3 separate regions of the Homo sapiens genome follow, and regions 1 and 3 are each linked to region 2. Evidence: promoter capture Hi-C in 16 types of primary human blood cells and fetal thymus (Javierre and others, 2016). All regions are on one chromosome and are shown on one strand. The core of a region is centred on a gene start or on the middle of the fragment in contact, and the rest is flanking DNA. Distances in the headings are between cores, read along the strand shown. Region 1 overlaps NAPG (NSF attachment protein gamma). Region 2 holds the start of PIEZO2 (piezo type mechanosensitive ion channel component 2). Region 3 has its middle 44 kb from the start of LINC01887.

Evidence for each region. Contacts are between HindIII fragments. The CHiCAGO score rates a contact against its expected background, and 5 or more counts as called.
Region 1: a contact is called between a fragment that was not itself captured here and the fragment with the promoter of PIEZO2 in region 2, in 1 of 17 cell types (megakaryocytes). The highest score is 8.0, in megakaryocytes.
Region 3: a fragment that was not itself captured here is called in contact with the fragment with the promoter of PIEZO2 in region 2 in 2 of 17 cell types (megakaryocytes and endothelial precursors); the score reaches 5.1 in megakaryocytes.

Annotation. Positions count from the first base shown.
Region 1 is chr18:10,543,427-10,547,311 of GRCh38, reverse strand. NAPG (NSF attachment protein gamma) reads right to left here. Exons shown (of 12, transcript NM_003826.3): 9 at 908-986. Among named protein-coding and RNA genes, the nearest start is that of NAPG, 19 kb to the right of the region's middle. The HindIII fragment of the contact is 2,446 bases long and covers 1,251-3,696 here.
Region 2 is chr18:11,147,335-11,151,512 of GRCh38, reverse strand. PIEZO2 (piezo type mechanosensitive ion channel component 2) reads left to right here and starts at 1,944. Exons shown (of 56, transcript NM_001378183.1): 1 at 1,944-2,988. The coding sequence starts at 2,925. LOC124904249 (a long non-coding RNA gene) reads left to right here and starts at 2,997. Exons shown (of 2, transcript XR_007066288.1): 1 at 2,997-4,178. RefSeq lists silencers at 1,592-2,041, 2,282-2,561, 2,582-2,761, 2,772-2,841 and enhancers at 2,535-3,373, 3,402-3,451. The HindIII fragment of the contact is 3,432 bases long and covers 904-4,178 here.
Region 3 is chr18:10,580,703-10,584,771 of GRCh38, reverse strand. No RefSeq gene overlaps it. Among named protein-coding and RNA genes, the nearest start is that of LINC01887, 44 kb to the left of the region's middle. The HindIII fragment of the contact is 5,125 bases long and covers 1-4,053 here.

The sequences.
Region 1 (3,885 bases), core at 1,224-3,723, 600 kb after region 2:
GGAGAGTACAGATGTTTTCAGCAGGTAATCACCCCAGTTAGGTTCAGACTACATGTGGTGCCTTGTTTTTGGTGGATGGAAGTTCTACACTTAATTCAAATCCTTTGCTATGTGGCTTTGGGCCTGTTCCATGCATAAGCCCTTCAGAGGGCAGTGCAACACTTCGACAGTGATGAAATCTTAGCTCTCCAAGCTTTGCGCTGCACTGCTACTTTGAGGCCTGTCTCAGCACAGCTGAAGAGTAAACCCAAGACTTGTGTGGGCCACATCCACACTCAGGGGACTCCGTTTCCAGCTCTCTCCTTTCCGGAATTTTCTCCTTGCTCTCTAGCTCATTTTCCTAGTTCCTCTGGCAAAAGAGACTGGGGTCCTTGTGGAGTTTTATCAACCTGAGCCATCATCACAGTGTAGCTCCATGCCTGGGACAAGCTTGGAGCAAAGCCAAAGGAGAGGAAAACAATGGGACCTCTTCTCCCATTGCTGGTTAGAAAGGCGGGGTTTCTTTTGGAGTTTTCATTGTTGCAGCCTTTGCTGCCCAGCTCCACAACTGTGGGCTTCTCTCAGGGCAGGGCAATGAATGCTGCAAGAGGAAATGGAAAAAAACCCGAGAAACTCATTCCCATGGTGGTTGTTTCTCCACGTGTTTGCTCCTCTCCTTAGTCTCTTTTTATTTACTTTTCAGAGTTCAAGGGTGGTTGCTTTTGTATTTTATCCAGTAGTTTAGCTGTAATCAGCAGAGAAACAAGCTGTAGTGGGCTTACTCTATCTTGGTCAAAAATAGAGGCCCATGAAGTATTATTTTACAAAAACATAGAAATACCCATAGAATCCTTTCTTAAGTACTTATTCATACCAGTATAAAAAATCATCTAATGTAATACCAAAAACAAACACTTTCAAAGAATACCTTATAACAAGTTGGATAATTCTCAATTTCCTTATAAATATTTTTTTCTTTCTGAATAGAGAGTGCCGCCTCATCAAACCTAAAACAAAACACAGAAATGTAAAAAAAGCAGGTCTAAATGATCTATAGCAGAGGTCCCCTGTGAAATGTACTTGACATCATAGATTGTAGAGACACCAGGAGGACAGGTATTATTAGCAGCTGCCCCAGGACCCAGGTTTCCACATGCTCTGCTCATCTGGCTTACCTTTCAAATGTCTGACTCCCCACTTTCAGGCTGCACGCTGACAGAAAAAGCAAAAGAACTCAAGGATGGGTTAGGTCAAACGGGGAGTTTTAAGCTTAGTAAGGACTGTCCAATAGCGAGTGTCACGACTTCTTCGTGATACGTACTTGAGACGATCTTCGATTAAATCACCCAAGATTTCTTTCCTCCCGACTGAAAGAACATCCAGACACCCAAGGCACTCGGTGCCTTCCCCCGACTGTGTCCCTCCATCACATACTCCGCTGCTGCCCCAGTGGCCCTAGCAAGCTCTGAGGTGCCTAAAAGGGCAGCAGAGGGGAGGCAAGTTAGAGACCTAAACAAAAGCCTTCCTGCATCTTCAGTCTTCAACATTCATCTTTTCCATTGACCCTCATACATTCTCCTTTTCTTCCATTTTGCCCAATGGCAGAATGAAGACGAAAGCAAGGAAAGGGGTCACCAAAACATTTCCCCCAAACCCTCCAGGCCCTTACCCCTTTCTCATTCCCCCAGCCCTAATTCCATCAAACCCTAATTGAACCTCCCCTCCCTGCAAAGCTGTAGTATACTCCAAATGCCAGGACTCCCTCAGTAGTACAACTTGAGACTGAGTGAAATGTACAGTCTTTAGCCACTGCTCTCATCCCAATAACAGTCCACGGTTATGGGAGAAACTACCAGGGTCTGGGCATTGGGAATACACACAACCAACAGCCAAAAGGGGCAAGAGTCTGTACTATCGGGATTCAAAGGGAGGTAAGTGGTATTGTAAACCAAAGTAAAAATACAAAAATGTTATGCTTGTTATGCTATATGCTCTATTTTTCTGTCTTTTTATTTTTTTTTGAGACGGAGTCTCACTCTGTTGCCCAGGCTGGAGTGCAGTGGCGACATCTCGGCTCACCGCAACCTCTGCCTCCCGGGTTCAAGTGATTCTCTTGCCTCAGCCTCCCGAGTAGCTGGGATTACAGGCGCCCACCACCACGCCCAGCTAATTTCTGTATTTTTAATAGAGATGGGGTTTCGCTATGTTGGCCAGGCTGGTCTCGAACTCCTGACCTCAGGGGATCCACCTGCCTCAGCCCCCCAAAGTGCTGGGATTATAGACGTGAGCCACCGCACCCAGCCTGTATGTTATCTTTTTAAAAATAGTGGCATGTATACACAGACACACACACACACCACACACACAGTGGCTTGGCTTATGCTATTATGGCTACTTACATCATGAGTTAAACTGAATCTTTATGGGATGCACGCTGGCAACTTAGTGCCTTATAAAATGACACTCATAGGAGAAATGCATTCTGAATTTCCACAGGTCAACTTGATAAATTTTTGGAACAAAGTCAATTTATAAGCTGGGTTTGGTAGCAGAATTCTAAGAGTGCTCCCGATTCTTGCCCCTTGTAAACATTTCCTCTATAATCCCCCTTTAAGTGTAGGTGTGACCCTCGGAATATGATGGGCCATCCTGTGATTAGGACACAAATCAGCTGACTTCGAGTGAATCACTGTCTGTGTGGGCCTGACTTAATCAGGTGGGCCCTTCCTTAAGTTAGAGGCCAGAGTACTCCTGATGTCTCGAATTAGCAGCAAACTGCCATGCTGTGAACCACCAATGGGGGCACACGGCCAGGAACTGAAGGCAAACTCAAAGCTGAGAGCAGTTCCTGGCGAACAGGCAACAAGAAAACAGGAATCTCTTCCACACAGCTGCAAGGAAATCAATTCTGCCAACAATCAATGAGCTTGGAAAAGGACCCAAGCCTCCGGTGAGATCAGCCCCCTCCGACACCTTCATTTCGGCCTGGTGAGACCCTAGCTCTGCTACCTAGCTACACTAGGACCTAGCTACACTGTATCCAGACTTCTGGCCTCATGAAACTGTGAGCTAATCAGTGAGTACTGTTTTAAGCTGCTAAGTTTGTAGCAATCTGCTATGCAGAAATAAAAAATTAATGCAAGGCGGACTACAGCTACATGTATCTGTATCATTTATAATTGTGACCCTGAGCTTATAACAGATCCTGTTTTATAAAATAAATTATGGTCAGAATATTCTGTGCCCGTCGTGTCTAGATTATATCATTCTATTAGCAATCTCAGTATTTTAAACTTTTCATATATTTAACTATAAAGGGTGCATTCTTTACGCATAAACTGTTTATTTCCTTGACATAATATTAGCATTTCTATGTGCTAATATATAGTTACCTAACAAAAGAGCCAAGCCCTTACATGAGTTTGTAGTCGAAAAAGTTGATCGACTTTGCTAAAAGGCCATGAAATTAGCATACAAAGCCATCTATTTTTAAATGTATCCAGAAAAGTATTAGTTACTTATTATAATGAAACACAGATGCTTTCAACTTTTCCATCAGGTAATACTTAATATTCCTAACAAAATGACAAGAATTTGGTTTTGCTGAAAAAAGAATAAATTGTTTTTATCTTCCCCAAATGTAACAAAATTGAAACCCCACAGAAGTTATGTGCAAATGGCAGAAAACTGTCACAGAACCTCATTCATCCCCAAGCTTTCAACAGACACCTTCTACACCACAACTCAAACTGTTCCTCTGGCCCCAACTATTTCCTGAACTCCAAAACCTATTTTTAACTACCTACAGAAATGTTTAGTTTATGTGTCATATTCCCAGCTAAGTTTATTATCATCACTGATAAGTTTGTTTCTATATTCCTTATCTCAGTTATTGATGGCACCATG
Region 2 (4,178 bases), core at 695-3,194:
GAGGACAGCGGTCTTCACCCCTGACTGCATACTTAAGAATCACTTGAGAGCTTTAAGAAAAATACAGGTGTGGGGGCCCCATCGCAGACCAATTAAATCAGGATTTCAGGGAGTGTGGAGACTGAGCGTTTTTCAAAAGCTCCCCAGGTGACTGCAACATGTAGCCAGCATGGAGAAGCCTATTTCAGATGTAGTCTAGACCGCTGAAACTTCCCCTTGAGTACATACGTTGGAAGTCTCAGAACTGGGATGTAGTTGTTAAAATCTCTAACGCCCCAGCAGCCAAGTTGGTACACACTGTGGCAGAGAAAGCTCGAAGTTTATTTGGTAAGACCACCCACCTGCTGGGAATCTTGTGCCTCCCAGCTTATGTTATTTTGAAAGAGAATTATTGTGAAAAAGTCTAGACAGTTGTTAGTATGGGAAGCCTATCAAGAACATAAGAAAGTATTCAGAGAATACAGAATTCATGTGATGACACAGTATTATTTAAAATTCAGGAGTCCTTCACCTATTAGCTCCCAAGAATGAGTCGTACATGGGGTGAGGTGGGGAGGGCATGGATGTGAAGGCAGACTTATGAACATCAAAATTAGTGGTAGATTTATATCAGGCTTCTACAAACAGGCTACACAAACCATTTCTTGATAGCATTTCTTGGTGACTGGATGCTAATTTAAGTTCTATCGTCTCCTGTAGGTCTGCTGTTGAGCTCATGACTACGCCCGGGTTTAGGTGCTATCTAAGCTTCTTGAGGATGGCAGAGCACATGGGTGGTTTAAGTTTCAGGGTGTCTTCACCATATGCCAACTGTCTTGAGTCTTCATTCAAAAAGCAATGGTTCATAGTTTTTCTGTAATTCTCAGAGAATTCGTGAAGGCACCTGAGCTCAAACCACAAGCTTACCCTGTCTCAAAAAAGGGATGTCCACAAAAGCGTTTCAAATGGCTAAAAAGACGGGGGTTTGCCTGTTTTTCATCAGCTCACTGCTCTATCCCCTCCAACTAATGCAAGCCAGGAATGTAGGTGCGGAAGGGAAGCCAGGTCCTTCCCAGTGTGTCCTCCTGATGGAATGCCAGTCCTGAACAGTCCTCTCTACAGATGCTAACAGCCTCTTCCTCCATGTCCGGAAAGACCCCTACTGTGCTCTAGCAAATCTCCTCCACTCTCGGATAACAGTTAAATAAAAGACCCAGGCACACTGCAGTCTCCCAGCTAGAGCCAGATTTCTCTAGATCTTGCCTAGAACAGGCAAAAAGCAGTGCACTAGGAGAAAGGGAGAATATTCTCAGTGCCAACGCTCTCTTTCCCCAGAGCCACGACAAGCAAGGAGCAAAACTGAGGTGAAAACGGAGAGTTCCCCCAAATGCACAAAGTGGGTGCATTATCTGTTGGGGAAGACCCGGGATTTCCCAGAGTCTATTCAGAATGGCAAGTTCTTGCTATGTGAAATATGGGCAGGGTCAACGGTGTAGATGAATTCAGCTCTATTCTTCTTAATGCCAGTGTGCACCTGTGGACCCAGCAGAAGTCGGGGTCGCACAGGACTCTCCAAGCCCCTGGCTTCTCTCCTGCCGGGCCTGTGCGTTTCCCTCGGACCTTAAACGGTTCCCTGGGTTTGGGCAAGCTCAGGGCCCGGCCGGGTGGACTGGATGCCAGGGTGCACCACCGGAATGACAGAACCACGCAGAGCCGCGGGGCTGCGGGAGCCAGTGGGGCAGGAGTGCCCGCGGAGGGCGAGCCAAGGCGCGCAGCCCACTGGCAGGCCAGGCCGGGTCTCTCCCAGGCGCGGGAGCCGCGGGTGGGGGCTTGCCCTCCGCGCCGGTGCAAGGCTCTCACTTCCCCAGCCGCTCAGGGGCGGGCTCCGCGCGCGCAGGCCCCGGAGCCGCCATCCCATTGGCCGGGGGACACGCCCGTCCCCGAGTGAGGGCTTCGAAAGTTTCATTGAAGGTGGAGAAGCGCGCGCCGCCGGGGAGCCCCGGCTGCGCCGCGAGGGCGAGGCTGCAAGGCGGCAGGCGGTGGTCGCGCTGGGCGACGGGACGGCGCTGGTTTTTCTCTTGAGTTTTAAATTGAGGCGGTGGAGGAGGGAGTGGGAGACCCACTCACCCGATATGCGCTCTGGTCTCCATTTCTCCCCACGCTCGCGCCGTTCCTTCGAGTGAGGGAGGGACTCGCAGCGCCGCCCGCGCACCGGACCCACAAGGCGAGCCCCGTGGTGGCGGGGATGGTTCTGCGCGCCTGGCAGCTCCCACCCCGGTCTCTCCGGCCCGAAGCTGGGGGGCGCAGGGGCTGAGCTGCGCTGCCTCTCGGGGATCCGCCGCGGGCCGCCTGGGGGCTGGAGGGCGAGACCCGGAGCCCGCCGGGCAGCTCCGAGAGCCGGGGCCGAGGCCAGAGCGCGGCAGCCTGCGTGGGCAGCGGAGACGAGGCCGGGCAAAGGAGACGCGGTGGCTTCAGAGGGGCTTCCAAGTAGAAAACTCCCCGGCCGCCCCCAAACGACGCCCCGGGAGCCAGGCGGGAGCACAGCACGCCCTTCTTGCCCCCTTTGCTCGCCGCGCCGCCTCCCAGGACCCTCCCAAAGCGTCCCTCTCCAAGGCCCCGGCATCAGCTACCCCTGAAGAAGCCGCCGCCGCTGCCGGATCCAGGATTCACACTAAATGGGCCGGCCGCAGGGGGCCGGGCGCCGGGCTAGGTGGCCGCCAAGAGCCTGGTGAGGGGCTACCCAGAGCCCGGTGGGCGAGGGGCGGCCAAGAGCCCCGGGAGCGTGCCCTCGGGGCGGAGAGCGTCGCGGCCCGCGCCGAGGCGATGCTCGGGTGGCTGCGAGCTGCCGGCGGCGAGAGGCCATAGACGGGCATGGGCCTTGCGTCCCACCACCCCTAGGGACCCTCGAGCCTCGCCCCTCTGCTCCGACTCGCCGGACCGACGCGATGGCCTCAGAAGTGGTGTGCGGGCTCATCTTCAGGCTGCTGCTGCCCATCTGCCTGGCAGTAGGTGAGTCTGGTCCGCTTTCCGAGGGCACTTGAGGAGGACGAGGGGGGCGCCTGGGTGGGGGACTTCTTAACAAAGTGAAGGGCTCTGGTGCTCTGGGGTTCGATTCGGGAGGCCAGCGGCGTCAGACGCGCGCTGTCCCTGGTGCACAGCCTGGCTCTCTCACTTCCCACTCTGGGGCGCGCGATCGGGGTATCTCTTAACAGGATGCTCGGGACGGGCATGTGCTGGAAACTGTTTATGTTGAATTTAGTTACACGTGGATTTTCTTTCGTGGAGTACTGACTTGTGTACTAAGGATGGCCATTGCTGTGGCTGGAAGGCGGATGCGTCCCCATCGTAGGTACAGTCAGGCTCCTACCTGAGCCCCTCGCCCCAGTGACCCTGCAAGCACAGCATGCTGTGCCTCCAGACGGCCCAGAGGCCATCTCTCCCAGACCCCAAATCCCAGCAACCGTGAAGGAAGAAGTGAAGGACTCCGGTCATTCAAAAAAGAAAAAGAGGGACGAGGTACAGGGAGACAGTGCCTTGACGTTTCTTACTTATTTTTTAAAACCTCCACAAAAGCCCCTACTACAAAAGTACTGGATGCTAAGGCTATAGACCCCCAACACCTAGTCCCGCCTCCCAGCGGCCGCCCTCTCCAGATTTTAAAGGGTTAGAAAGCAGGGTTGGAACTCCTTGGGACTGGCAAGGGCCCAGGGAGGACCGCAAGGGAGCCTCCTCGACGCCCAGACAAGCGTTGCACCGTTTCCCCAGGACTGGCCTGGCGTGCAAAGCAACTGGGTGCTGCGTTCTGGGAGTCGGACCGTTTCTGATCTTCTCCTCAAACAGGCAGTGCCTGTGACATTGAATTCCTCTCGTAAGAATGCCGGGCCCTGGTTCTTTGCTCTCCCTCTCACCAACAAGAGCTAGGAAGTAGAGCGCTTTTCACCAAGTAGTAACTGTATTTACAGAGGGCGTGGCCTTCGCAGAAAAGGCCACCTTTTTGCATCTTGACCGAGGTTGATGACTCTGCATCTTGACCGAGGTTGATCACACCTGTGTTAAATGTTTTCTTTGTGCAAGCAATCGAATGGGGGCTGTAGCGTGATTGGTGAGGGTCAGGACAGTTGCCGGGAGAGTTTTTGTAACACACTTCGTGAGTGAAGAGTCTGGGAGGCGTCTTTTCAACAAACCTCAGCGGAAAACCC
Region 3 (4,069 bases), core at 242-2,741, 570 kb after region 2:
GGATACATATGCACAACGGAATATTATTCATCCATTAAAAAGAATGAAATCTTGTCATTTGCAGCAACATGTATGAGACTGGAGGTCATTATGTTAAGTAAAACAAGCCAGACATAAAAGCCAAATATCATATTTTGTCATATGTGGGAGCTAAAAAGTGGATCTCATGGAGGTGGAGAGTAGATTGGTGGTTGCCAGAGGCTGGGAAGGGTAGAGGCGATAGGGGGATGAGGAAAGGTTGGCTAATGAGTAGAAAAACACAGAGAGAAAAAATACTATCTTCTGTTCAATATTAGAGTAGGGAAATAATAGTTAATAGTAATTTATTGTATATTTCAAAATAGCTACAAGAGAGGATTTGTAATGTTTCCAACACAAAGAAAAGATAAATGTTGGGGGTGACTGACATCCCAATTACCCTGATTTGATCATTACACATCGTATACATGTATGAAAATATCACTCTTACCCCATAAATATGTACACTTATTCCAGGTCAACTAAAAAGAAAAAGAAAAAAAAAAAGACTGGTGGTGAGTTCTAAATCTATCAACTATAAAACTAAGACTAAAGAACTAGAAAACTTTGGTGAAAAAAGAGAAGTGTTAGGAACTTTGAAAATAGAAAAATTTTAATATAACTTTTTTTTTTTGAGACAGAGTCTCCCTCTGTTGCCCAGGCTGGAGTGCAGTGGTGCGATCTCGGCTCACTGCAAGCTCTGCCTCCTGGGTTCACACCATTTTTTTTTTTGTATTTTCAGTAGAGATGGGGTTTCACCGTGTTAGCCAGGATGGTCTTGATCTCCTGACTTCGTGATCCGCCTGCCTCGGCCTCCCAAAGTGCTGGGATTACAGGCATGATTATATAACTTTTTAAAAGTCAGGACATTTTAAGAAAAACTATTCAAGGACCCAAGATTGTACCAATTGCCCCATATTTCAGAGCTGAGAATCAACAGAAAATGCCTAAAAATGCTTAAAATAGTTAGAAATACAAGCATAAACAATCCTTTTTAAATTTGAGAAGAATCTTACAGAAATGAATACCTCTGATGAAGAAACATTTATCTGAATTTCAACAATTATTTCATTTTTTTCTTTTATTAAATTCAATGGCGATTGTTATAACTTTATTTTTAATTAGTAAACAGAATCCTATATAATAATGTGTTTATCTATTGACCCTTTCACCAGTATCCACACGGAAAGGAGACTGGAGTGATAGTCACAAAGGTAACGTTTATTTCTGAATAATAAAATTTGAATGAATTTTTTTTCCTTTGCACTTTTTGGGTTGCTTGATGTTCTTTTCTTTTCAAATGAACAAAAATTAAAGAATTTCCACAAAACAACAACTAAAAAGAAATATTTACTAAACCAGTTATTTTGTGTGAGACATTATGTGTGGTTAAGAACTGTGGAACTCTGCATGGACTTCTAGTTGGAAAGGCAACATTGATGGGGATGGGAATTATGATGATGGAATTACAGAGAGATAAATAGGTGATACACAGTAAAGATACGTGATGGACAAAAAGCTAAGCAGCCAATTAGATAAGGAAATACAGAATGTCACAGGGATACTGGGCCAGAACACCTTGCATCTATATCTGTATTATTCATTGATTTGTTCAGTAAGGAAAATAAAAGCAGAAAGATTTCTTGGCAGTAACTGTATCCTCTAACTCACCAACTGAGCAGTAAAATATCCCTCCTCAGTGCTATTATTAAAATGTTTCTCTAATTTCTTCATCTATAATACCAGGAACCTAACGTTATGCTAATTTTCAGATTATTGTTTTGATAAAGAGGATTTTATTTTCAGATTGTAATATCTACACATTGAAGGGGAGACAGCTGTTGATCTTTTAGCTTAGGCACACAGGCATAAAAGGAAGGCTGGTTTCTCAGGTCAAGAGGCCATCGCCACCATTCACCTGGTGAAAGGAAGCTGAGCCAGGGAGGAGGGCCACAGTGTGGGTGATGAGGGGCACCTCACTTTCAAGGGGCCCCATGACACTCCCGGCTGCTGTAGTGTTCATTCTGGTGTGCACGTGCTCAGGAAGTCAAAGAAATAAAATCAGTAATTTTTTTTCATGCTTCATCTCGTATGTGTTCAACTCTACCCCTTAAATTTTGAGTTGTTCGAAATAAAGAGCCTTCCCTCATGTATGCATGGGAAGAAAATATCCTCTCCCAGGCCCCATGCACAGTCCCGCTCACTCTTCTGCGAGCAGTGAGAGCTGCGGGCAATATAACACTGAAAATTGTCCTTAGTCTCTATGTATTTGTTTCTCTGATCCGAATAAGCAAGCAAAAGCCCACAGGCCATGCGAAAATCCCTCCCAGGGAATGTGCAGTGATGGCTGCCTCTTCCCAAGCCCTGCCTTCTTCCTCTGTGAACACAGAAACCATACAGATGTGGACACACAACCGGAAATGCCACCCCATCAAAATGGAAAACTAAGTGGATAAATTGTTGAAAAGCCAACTTACAGACTCTGAGGAATGCTGGATTGAAAGCACATTTGTCTTCTGTTTCTTTTTTCTTTTTCTTTTTTTTTTTTTGAGATGGAGTCTCACTCTTGTTGTGCAATGGTGCGATCTCTGCTCACTGCAACCTCTGCCTCCCAGGGTCAAGTGGTTCTCCTGCCTCAGCCTCCCAAGTATCTGGAATTACAGGCACGTGCCGCCATGCCCAGCTAATTTTTGTATTTTTAGTAGAGACAGGGTTTCACCATGTTGGCCAGGCTGGTCTCGAACTCCTGACCTCCAGTGATCCACCCGCCTTGCACTCCCAAAGTGCTGAGATTACAGGTGTGAGCCACCATGCTTGGCCTCATCTTCTATTTCTTCAGCATTTTTCTGTGGAATTTTGGAAAAGACAAAGTCCATTCCCAGGAAGGAGCATGACCACAGAATGGAGAGCAGAATTACCAGAAAGACAAAGCAATACAAGTTGCATAAACAAATGGATATATTTGCTTTTTCCCCTGTAACAGGAAGTTTGAGTGTAGTTAGAAATGAACTGACACAGCGGCTTAAAAACATTATGAAGTTCTGCTGTAAATTTTTTTTTTTTTTTGAGACGGAGTTTCACTCTTGTCGCCAGGCTGGAGTGCAATGGTGCAATCTTAGCTCACTGCAACCTCCGCCTCCCGGACTCAAGTGATTCTCCTGCCTCAGCCTCCCAAGTAGCTGGGATTACAGGTGTGTGCCACCACACCCAGCTAATTTTGTATTTTTTTTTAGTAGAGACTGGGTTTCACCATGTTGGTCAGGCTGGTCTCAAACTCCTGACCTCAAGTGATCCATCCGCCTCAACCTCCCAAAATGCTGGAATTATAGGCATGAGCCAACCTGCCCAGCTGCTGTAACATTCTTAAAAACGTTGACATGTTGCCCTATGAATGTAAGACACAGGCTAGGCCTTCAGACACTTCCAGGGTCAAGACTGGGAGACAGCTGAAAGGGAGGGAAGCAAGGAGCTTTCTCCAAGGGAGATTATGCTTTAGTATGGGGGAAGGAAGGGGATCCCCAGTGCACGTTTATTCCACAGCATTGCCCGTCATGAGGCAGTGATCCTGTCTTGGATGAAAAAAGATTAGGTGACCATGTCTTGGTTAGACCAACCACAACTCATCCTCTTAAGTGGAAGAAGGGCTTCCCTTTCTTGCAATCAAGTCAGATCCACTACCAACTAGACAAAGTGGGGTTTGATTCACAGGGAGGAAAGGAAACGCCCACAGTCTAGGCAGCAGACAGGATGATGGCGCAGCTTCTGATGCCTTGGGTTTGTGCCTTTATGTAGACAGCAATTAGAACAAGGAGCAGAAGAAATTGTTTTTATTGGGTACTTTGTAGGAGGCTGAGTCTCCAGTGGTACTGATTTGGGGCCCAAATGAGACACAACAAGTGCTAGAGGGTTTGCTCCACAGAATGTGTGTTAGTCATAGAATGCTACATAGCAAATCCCTCCAAAACCTCGTGCCTTAAAACAAAACAAGATTTTTATTTCTCACAGTTTCTGTGGATTAGGCATTTGGGAAAAGCTTGGCTGTGTGGTTCTG